2 separate regions of the Homo sapiens genome follow, and region 1 is linked to region 2. Evidence: promoter capture Hi-C in 16 types of primary human blood cells and fetal thymus (Javierre and others, 2016). All regions are on one chromosome and are shown on one strand. The core of a region is centred on a gene start or on the middle of the fragment in contact, and the rest is flanking DNA. Distances in the headings are between cores, read along the strand shown. Region 1 overlaps RCOR1 (REST corepressor 1). Region 2 holds the start of AMN (amnion associated transmembrane protein).

Region 1 (5,577 bases), core at 2,402-4,901, 220 kb before region 2:
AGAGCCAGAATTTGACCCGGGTCTTTCTTACCCTGTACATAACCTGTGCTGCCTTTTATCTTGTGGGACAGGAAACCTCATATGTTGACATTGTACATAATACAGCACCCCAGGCATTCATTCAGCAAATGTCTGTCTGATTTTTGTTGGACATTGGGAACAATGAAAAGAATGAAAAAGTGTATATTTGCTAGTAGGTATTAGATGGTAATTCCTTTTACAGGTTAGAGGGCTCCTGGTACATTAACTTACTTCATCACAACCTTCCGAGCACCTAGTAGACACACCATGTGTCTTCATTTAAGTAGTTACTACAGTAGAGTGCTTTCTTCCTTTACTTTAGATTTGAGTCATCAGGGTGATCTTCCAAGAATTTTTTTTTTTTTTTTGGACAGGGTCTCGCTCTGTTGCCCAGGTTGGAATGCAGTGGCACGATCTTGGCTCACTGCAACCTCTGCCTCCAGGATTCAAGCGATTGTCCTGCCTCAGCCTTCCAAGTAGCTGGGATTACAGACACGCACCACCGTGCCCAGCTGATTTTTGTATTTTTAGTAGAGATGGGGTTTCACCATGTTGGCCGGGCTGGTCTCGAACTCCTGACCTCAAGTGATCCTCTTGCCTCAGCCTCCCAAAGTGCTGGGATTACTGGCATGAGCCACCGCACCCGGCCATCCAAGAAAATCCAAAAGTTACATGACTTTAAAGGTTACCTTAGTAAGAATACCTTATTGTTTACAATATGGCAGATGTCCTATATAACCTCAGCTGCAGCATTCGGGATCTACTGTTACTGTCTTGTTGTTCCTGTCACCAGCTGATTCTTAAGATATAAAGCAAAAGAGGAGTTGAAAATGGAGTAGCATTCAACAAATGCTTGTGTGTGTCTTAAAATTTGTAGCTAAATCTGGTTGCAGACAGTGGGCACAGGCATTACAGGCCTTGTTACTGATGTAGCAGGAGGGACTCTGAGCAGATAACATATGCCCAAGAACCACAGGCAGGACTAGCCCCTGTGCTGGGCCACTCCAGGGACTCCTGCATCACTTTTTCAGCCTGTGCATGTGTTTGCTCAAAGATCGTGCTACTGGTGATCATACATACATTCCTTACTCAGTTAAGGTAGATAATAGTGTGCTCTGAGACTTGAGATTTACAGCAGAAGCTTAAGGTTCATTTGTTGTTCATTCACCAAGTATTTATTAAAGGAAGGAACCCTTCAAGCCAGTTTTAAACAAGCAGACCTTCTCCAGAGTTGACCCTCAATTTACCGCAGATTGTTTTCGCCTTCTGTCCTTACATATTCCTGAGTGCATCTCATGACCTGGTTTTTAATCAGCTGGCCTGCTGTCTGTTTCTAGGTCTGGTATGCTGCCATTTGCATCTCATCTCCTCCAGTATGAACCCCCATATTACCTGTGTCTCTCTGCAGGGTTCTGGCCAGGTATACAGAACCACCTGTTCGAGCAGCCTCATCTGACATTTTTTAGAATCTGAGAGCACTTTTATTTGGCATAATCTAATGTATTGTGAAGGAAAAAGCAAGGGACACACTTTGGAGTAATTCCCTGCCCTGCCTTTTTTTTTTTGAGATGAAGTCTTGCTCTGTCACCAAGGCTGGAGTTCAGTGGCACGATCTTGGCTCACTGCAACCTCAGCCTCCCAAGTAGCTGGAACTACAGGCATGCGCCACCACGCCCAGCTAATTTTTGTATTTTTAGTAGAGATGGGGTTTCACCATGTTGGCCAGGATGATGTTGATCTCTTGACTTCGTGATCCACCTGCTTTAGCCTCCGGAAATGCTGGGATTACAGGCGTGAGCCACCGCGCCTGGCCTCTGCCCTGCTTTTTAAAATCACCAGTTATACTTTTGTGACAAGCTATGGTCATTTCATTTGTCATTTGCTGACCTTCAAGTAAATTGAAATTTTACTGTAATCTGAGTGAAGTAACCAGTTTGTAACTATTTTAAATATTAAATCGGAAATTAGTGGCTTAGTATTAGAATTAATATTGAGCTGCAGTATATAATTAGTTATTGTTTGAATTAGGTTGACTTTTTCTTTTGTCAATGGAATATTTTTCCCCAATTTTTAGAATACATGCTTCTATAAGAGTTGGAATTCTTTTTCAAAATTGATTTCTGTTTCCTAAATTGGTTGACAGTTCTCCCAGAGCTGGGAGCATGCTTTTGGTATAATCGCATGGCAAACTAAGTTGTAGAAGCTCAGACTTTTATTAGGACTCCTCTGTTTACTCTTTGTGTCATAGTGGGAAAGTGGATCACTCTGAGCCTGTTTTCTCTAAGTTTGGCCATTGTACCTAGAGAGTAAGATTTAGGAGCCAAGAGGGAATAGGGGCTAGTCAGGATTTTACTGCCTACTTCATACAGTTCTATGCTCCTTGATTTTTTTTTTTTTTAGCTTGTGTTGTTGTTATTTTTTTAATTCATAAAGGAAAATCATGCATGAACATATGGCAGTGCTATTGACTAGTGCATTATTTTTTCTTGTACACTTGGGAAGAAAGACTAGAATATCCTCAGGGAGGAAATTGATTCATCTTTGGGGGTGGCAGCTTCTCCTAGAGGTTGAGTCAATTCATTTTCCTTGGTATTTTCCATGGTTCTTGAAAGCTAGCCACCTTATATTGGAGTAGTACATATTTGAAAGCAAATACCAAGCACTGGGTCACGTAATCTATCTCTTAAGAATTTTTTAAAACATAAAGAATAGTTTGTTCATTATTCAACCTGAGCTGAAACTAAAAATGACGCCCAATTTCATATTTCTTTTTACTGCTAGACATGTTGTTTAAAGTAGTACTTGTTTGTTGTAGAAAGTTTTAAGTAGAACTAAAGATTTTGTCTTCCTTTTCCCTTTTTCTTTTTTTGAGACAGAGTCTTGCTCTGTCACCAGGCTGGAGTGCAGTGGTGCAATCTTGGTTCACTGCAACCTCTGCCTCCCGGGTTCAAGCGATTCTCCTGCCTCAGCCTCCCAAGTAGCTGGGATTACAGGCATGTGCCACCACACCTGGCTAATTTTTGTATTTTTAGTAGAGATGGGGTTTCGCCATGTTGGTCAGGTTGCTCTCGAACTCCTGACCTCAAAGTGATTCGCCTGCCCTAGCCTCCCAAAATGCTGGGATTACAGGCATGAGCTGCAGCATCCAGCCCTGACTAATTATTTTTAAAAATTATTTGTAGAGACAGGATTTCACTATGTTATCCAGGCTAATCTAGAACTCCTGGCCTCAAGGGATCCTCCCGCCTCAGCTTTCCGAAGTGTTAGGATTACAGGCATGAGCCTTTGTTTTTCTCTTTTAAAGAAGACTCATAATCTCATCACCAGGTGATACTGCTGTTAATATTTGAGAATATTCATTCAGACGTTTCTCTGCAGGATCAATAACTATTATAATGGTTCTGTTTTGTTACTGTGTGTTCTTTATTTTTAGTCTTGTACAGGACAAGTGTATTAGTCCGTTTTTATGCTGTTGGTAAAGACATACCCGAGACTGGGAAGAAAAAGAGGTTTAATGGACTTAGAGTTTCACATGGCTAGGAAGGCCTTACAATCATGGTAGAAAGCGAGGAGGAGCGAGGAGCAAGTCATATTTTACATGGATGGCGGCAGGCAAAGAGAGCTTGTGCAGGGAAACTCCCCTTTTTAAAACCATCAGATCTTGTGAGACTTACTAACAGGAGAATAGCACAGGAAAGCCCATCCTCCATGATTCAGTTACCTCCAGTTGGGTCCCTCCTACAGCACTTGGGAATTGTGGGAGATACAAATCAAAATGAGATTTGGGTGGGGACACAGCCAAACCATATCAGCAGGCCTGAAATATACACGTATATCAATTCTAGCAGACCATAGGGTGTACTCTGTCCCTCAGTTTGTTTAATGGCATCTCTTCTTGTTTTTCAGTGGATGAATACATTGCCATTGCCAAAGAAAAGCATGGGTACAACATGGAACAGGTAATATCATGGTTTTCTTTCTTTTGCTGTTAAAAAATGAGTATTTGTAACTAAATAATTATATTTTTTTCTTCTTTGTATTGAGTAGCAGTGTTTCTTCATTAGCAACTTTTTGGTAATTACTAGTAGTGTTACACAAACTCTGGTCTTCTTTTTCTTGTTCAAGATGAATATTAGAGGACCCTTTGATTTGAAAGGCATATCTGTCATCTGCAGATCTACAGCCTTTAGGACACTGATTACTTAGTGATTACTAAGGAGCTGGATGCTTGAGCATAATGCTTTCTCATTTGAATATGTGATTTGTTTGTCATTCTTCTGGTTGTATCATGATGTTTTTTGACGCATGTTTTCACATTCTTACCTAAAGTGTTTTAATATTCACCATTTTGAATCATTTTCAGTTTGAGATGGAGTCTCGCTCTGGTGACCAGGCTGGAGTGCAGTGGCGCATCTCAGCTCATTGCAACCTCTGCCTCCGGGGTTCAAGTAGTTCTCGTAATTCTCGTGCCTCGGCCTCTCAAGTAGCTGAGATTACAGGTGCACACCACCACGCCTGGCTAATTTTTGTATTTTTAGTAGAGAAGGGGCCTCCCAAAGTGTTGGGATTACAGGCGTGAGCCACTGCGCCTGGCCAAGATTTTCTTTTAAATATTGTTTGGAATGTACTAATAAGAAATCCACAAGATTTATTTTTCTGCAAAAGTGTGGTGATACCTTATTTCAGCTTTAATGATTTATTTTAAACACATCAAGTTGGATTAATGCTTTCCATGGCATTAATCTAGATCTTACAACCTGGAAGTTACTGACATTTCTTATTTTTCTGAATGATGGAAGTTACCAAGAGTTTAGATTATGTGAAATTGTACCCTTTCTTTTGGACTTGGCCTTACATTTAATTACTCTATCCTGGTCATTGAAGCTACTTTTGATTGCAAAATATACCTGTATGAATTCTTAAGGATGGTAGTCTTGATCATTTCTCCTTTAAAAATGATCATTAGCATGAAAATTTCCTATATTATAATTCCAGCATAAAAATTACCATTAGCAAAGTATTGCTGGATCTCATCTTACCTCTTTTGTTGCTTATTCTATTTCTACTTTTTTTCTTTCTAAGCTGAGAAGACCTTTATATATCATATATATAACATATAAATATATATAATTTTTAAAATAAAAGAATAACAGCAATTGTTCTTTCATAAATTACTTTTTTCATTTATATATTGAGGCAGTAAAGTGTGATACTTGAAGAGCACAGATCCTAGAACTATGCTGGTTCTGTGACCAGAGGCAGGGAAAGGCAGTGCCTCAGAGAAGACCTTCAGTTTATACTCAGGCTGATCCTCACAATGGAGGCAAGCCTACAACCAAAAGAAAACAAAACTGTAGTAAAAACATAGCAAACCCTGAGGAAGAGTGTGATTATGAGTTTACTACATTATTAGATTCAGATGTCCAGGTTTTAACAGAAAAATCACAGAGCATACAAAGAAATGGTAAAGTATGCCCATTCAGTAGAAAAAAATTAATCAACAGAAACTGTCCCTGGGAAAAGACCTTAGTGGCAGATCTACTAGGCAAAGATTTT
Region 2 (5,158 bases), core at 1,545-4,044:
CCACCATCCATCATCCAACATCCATCTATCCCCATTCACCATCCACCATCACCTTCCATCCATCTCCCATCCATCATCCACCATCCATCTATCCCCATTCACCATCCACCATCACCTTCCATCCATCTACCATCCATCATCCACCATCCATCCCCATTCACCATCCACCATCACCTTCCATCCATCCACCATCCATCATCCAACATCCATCTATCCCCATTCACCATCCACCATCACCTTCCATCCATCCACCATCCATCATCCACCATTCATAACGCACCACCCATCTATCCCAATTCACCATCCACCATCACCTTCCATCCATCTACCACTCATTCATTCACCATTCATTTATCCACCGTCCATTCATGCATACATCCACCATCCATCTATCCACCATTCATCCATCCACCATCCACTCCCACTATCCATCCATCCACCATCTATCCATCCACACATTCACCATCCACCCATCCACAACCTACCATCCATTCATCCACCATTCACTCATCCACCATCCATTCTCCACCATCCATCTACCCATCCATCCCTCTACCCATTCACATATCCACCATCCACTCATCCATCATCCACAATTCACTCATCCAGCGTCCATTCATCCATCCACCCATTCACACATCCACCCATCTACCATCCACCATCCCTTCATCCACCATCCACCCATCATTCACTCACCCACCATCCACCATCCATCCATCCACCCATCTATATGTCCATTCACCCATTCGCCATCCACTCATCCACCACCCACCATTCATCTATCATCCCTCATCCACTGTCTACCATCCACCATTCATCCATCCACCCATTCACCCATCCACCATCCATCCATCCACCATCCACTTATCCACAATCTGCCATCCACCATTCGCCATTCATCCATCCATTCATCCACCACCCATCACCATTCACATCCACCATCGGCCATTCACCATCCACCATCCACCATCCACCTATTCACCATCCACCATTCACTCATTCACCACCCATCCTTCCATCCACCCACCATCCACCACCCACCATCCACCAACCACTATTCATCTTACCATCCACCATCCACCATCTATCATCCACTATCTACCATCTGCCGCCCATCCATCCACTTAATATTCACCATCTACTCATCACCATTCACTTGTCCATTATCCACCACCCACCAACCATCATCCACCTACCATCCATCATCCACCATTTATCCATTATCTACTTATCTACCATCCATTACCCATCCATTTATCATCCTATCCACCATCTACTATCCACCCATTATCCACTATCCACTGTCTATTCACTATCCACCATCTATTCACTATCCACCGTCCATCTCCATCCACAATTCACCATTTATGCAACCATCATCCACCATCTATCCATTTACCATCTATCTATTCACCATCCACCATCCATCCATTCAGCATTCATCACTCACCAAACATCCACCATTTAACACCCACTTTTTTTTTTTTGAGATGGGGTTTCACTCTTGTTGCCCAGGCTGGAGCACAGTGGCGTGATCTCCGATCACCACAACCTCCGCCTTCCAGGTTCAAACGATTCTCCTGCCTTAGCCTCCCAAGTAGCTGGGATTACAGGCATGTGCCACCATGCCTATCTAATTTTGTATTTTTAGTAGAGATGGGGTTTCTCCATGTTGGTCAGGCTGGTCTCGAACTCCCGACCTCAGGTGATCTGCCCGCCTTGGCCTCCCAAAGTGCTGCGGTTACAGGCGTGAGCCACCGTGCCCCGCCAACACCCACTCTTTATGATCTACCTGTCGGCCATGTATCCATTTATGCCATTATCCATCCACCACTCCCTGATTACCATCCATTCCTTTTCCTTTTTTTTTTTTTTTTTTTGAGACGGAGTCTCGCTCTGTCGCTCAGGCTGGAGTGCAGCGCACGATCGTGGCTCACTGCAAGCTCCACCTCCTGGGTTCACGCCGTTCTGCCTCAGCCCCCCAAGTAGCTGGGACTACAGGCGCCTTCTACCATGCCCGGTTAATTTTTTTGTATATTTTTAGTATAGACGGGGTTTCACCGCGTTAGCCAGGATGGTCTTGATCTCCTGACCTCGCGATCCGCCTGCCTCACCCTCCCAAAGTGCTGGGATTACAGGCATGAGCCACCACGCCCGGCCATTCATTCATTTTTCACTCACCATCCTCATCCATCCATTCATCACCCATCCACCCTCTATCACTCACCATCCACCCCGTCAACCATTTACCATTCATCTGCCATGCGTCCATATGCCGTACACCATGCACCATCAATGTTGCTGTCCATCAGCTGTCCCCTACTCACCATCCACTACTCTCCACCATCATCCACAATCCACCCTCCTATACCATCCACATACCATGTTCCATCCAGGATCTTCCTTCTATCATCCAACCACCACCCACAGCCCATGGGACAGGGGCACTGCGTGGAGAAGTGGACACCCAGTTCCAATGGTGAGCAGACTAGCTCAGCCCTAGCAGCACACAGGACAGAGAAAGGGGTGAATTCAAAGGTCGTTTATTCCCCCTCCCGGCAAGACACCCATTTTACAGGGTAGGTCAGTCTCGCCAAGCCCTTCTTCTTTGCCCTTCTTCCTGAGAACCTAAGGTGTTCAGGCCCTGCAGGGGCGGGTAAGGGGAGGCTGAGAAGGTGCCTCCCAGGGGCCTGAAGAGTCGGCCCTGGGCGGGTCTGGAGGTAAATGTGTAACCGACCCTGGTGCCCCCACCCGACCTGCCTGGTCACGTGGGTCCAGTGGGGCAAAGTCTCCTGGTGGGGTGCAAGGAGCCGAGGCGAGATGGGCGTCCTGGGCCGGGTCCTGCTGTGGCTGCAGCTCTGCGGTGAGCCGGGACCACACCGGTGCGGGCCCGGACGGTAGCGGTCTGTCAGGACCCAGGGCCGAGGTCGCTCTAGGCCTGGAGGGTGAAGATCTTCCGAGGAGTGGGCAGGGAGGGCTTTGGAGGGTTGGGGGCGTGAAACTCGGCCCTGCCTCCCTCGTCTGGCGAGTGCGCAGCCCGGAAGTGCGCGGCCAGTGCATCGGGCGGTGCGGGAGAGGAGAGGAGGGGCTCCGGGAACCTCGGCCAGCCCCGGCCTCCGGCGGCTCCTGCCCTCGCGGTTTTTCCGTCTGCGAAATGGGCGCGGTCCCCAGAACCTGCCGAGAGCAGCGAGTGTGCGCCTGCGGGGCTCGGCAGACCGCCTCAGCTTCCCGGTCCCCAAGGGAGCACTGAGCCCTCCTCCGCCTTCACACCAGGCCGGCGCGTGTCCCTGGCGCCCCCTTCCCTAAACCCCTCGCGGCTCCCTCAGGACAACCCCACCCACCACATTCAGGGCCGGCCTGACCTGGTCCTGCCGCCCCCAGCCCCTTCTTACTTCTCATACCGGGTTGCGCTCTGTCGCAGCTCTTCCCGGCCCAGGTAGGACTCCTCCGGGAAGCCTTCCTGATTCCAAGGCCGAGAAGAGGTCTGTGCTGCCCCATCCTCCTCCATGCCCCAGTTGTCACTGTCCTTAACAACGCTGTCCTCTGCTCCAGCGCCAGGCAAACTGGGGGCAGTGCCGGGAGGCTATCTAGGCAGGCGTCCTGCAGGGCGCGTTTGAGCGGGCTCTGCAGGTATCAGTAGAAGTCCGTTGGAGAGCGCCCGGGCAGGGCGCCCACAGTCTGGCCGGGAGGGACCAGGGTCTGGGTCCGGGCCCCCGGGGATGGGGTTCCTATGCGTCCCGGGTGATCCGCGCGGACCTTCCGCACTTCTCTGGGTGGGTGGCCTTCCCTGAGAAGGGAGCATCCCGGAGAGCATCCCGGGCACTCAGTCGCCTCCTCCCCAGCACTGACCCAGGCGGTCTCCAAACTCTGGGTCCCCAACACGGACTTCGACGTCGCAGCCAACTGGAGCCAGAACCGGACCCCGTGCGCCGGCGGCGCCGTTGAGTTCCCGGCGGACAAGGTGCCTGGGAGCGCCGGCGGGGTCGGTGATGGGCCTGGACCCCTGAGACCGTGTGGCCCCGGTGGGGGTTGCTCCCGGCTCGGCTGAGGCAGCTTCTTCCTGCAGATGGTGTCAGTCCTGGTGCAAGAAGGTCACGCCGTCTCAGACATGGTAAGGCCGGGCTGCTACTGCCACTGGGCTGGGGGTTCACAGAGTCTCTGAAGCGCCTTCAGGGACTGCTGTGCCTTGAGGGCGGACCCCACCGGCATGGAGGCACTGCAGGACTGGGACTTTGGCCTCTGGAGAATATTCTAGGAGGCAGGGAGTGGGGGGGAACCTAGGGGAGCTTGGTCCCATGGTCCCAGCCAGGCTGTGTCCTGGGAGGGATGGGAGGCACCCCTGTCCCCACAGCCCTTGTGATGCCCAGCAGTGGGTGGTCTTCCCAGGAAGCGCCTGCTCCATGCCCTTCCCCCAAAGCCTTGCCTTGTCCTGGTGCCTAAAGCTCCATCTTTAGAACACTAGGGAAAGTGTCCCCAACACCCCCCCCTCTACCCACCATCCGGGTCCCTGGCCTGTTAGGAAGTGGCCGCCCAGGAAGAGGCGAGCCCACTCCTGCCTGGCTCTGCCTCCCTTCAGATCAGATCAGATTCTCCTAGGGACCCCTATTGTCACTGCGCCAGCGAGGGGCCTGGGTGGGTGTGCACTCCTTAAGTGGCTGACATCTGAGATGGGACAGCTTAATCCTGAAACCTTCCCCACTCCCATCAGTCCATGGAAGAACTGTCTTCCACAAAACTGGTCCCTGGTGCCAAAAAGGTTGGGGACTGCTGCCCTAGGGGACCTTTTTCTCAAACTGCTTCACACAACACTCCAAGAACATGATGGGAACTGGGAGGAAAGCGGGTTCCATGAGTAGGTAAGTTTGGGAAATGCTGCAGCCTGCACTTTCCTGGAGCTTCATCACGTATTAAAGGCTCTGATAAGGCCCCAGAGAAAGAAGCTAATTTCCTTGTTTAAGGTGGAGTTCCGCAAGCTACAGGCCAAATGCAGCCCCTACGGGTGGAGCAAGGAACGGTTTTTACACTTTGTAATCGTTGGGGAAAAAAAGAACAATCTTTTGTGGCACTTGAAAAATATATGACATTCACACCTCAGCGACAGTAAATACAGCTTCACTGGCACACAGCCTGCCCGCTTGGTTGAGTATCCTCGGTGGCC

Evidence for each region. Contacts are between HindIII fragments. The CHiCAGO score rates a contact against its expected background, and 5 or more counts as called.
Region 1: a contact is called between a fragment that was not itself captured here and the fragment with the promoter of AMN in region 2, in 1 of 17 cell types (total B cells). The highest score is 5.3, in total B cells.

What each region holds. Positions count from the first base shown.
Region 1 is chr14:102,697,351-102,702,927 of GRCh38, forward strand. It overlaps RCOR1 (REST corepressor 1), which reads left to right. Exons shown (of 12, transcript NM_015156.4): 4 at 3,928-3,980. Among named protein-coding and RNA genes, the nearest start is that of TRAF3, 77 kb to the right of the region's middle. The HindIII fragment of the contact is 4,983 bases long and covers 1,161-5,577 here.
Region 2 is chr14:102,919,869-102,925,026 of GRCh38, forward strand. AMN (amnion associated transmembrane protein) reads left to right here and starts at 2,795. Exons shown (of 12, transcript NM_030943.4): 1 at 2,795-2,863; 2 at 3,843-3,961; 3 at 4,067-4,111. The coding sequence starts at 2,821. RefSeq lists silencers at 3,019-3,218, 4,382-4,580. The HindIII fragment of the contact is 27,416 bases long and covers 1-5,158 here.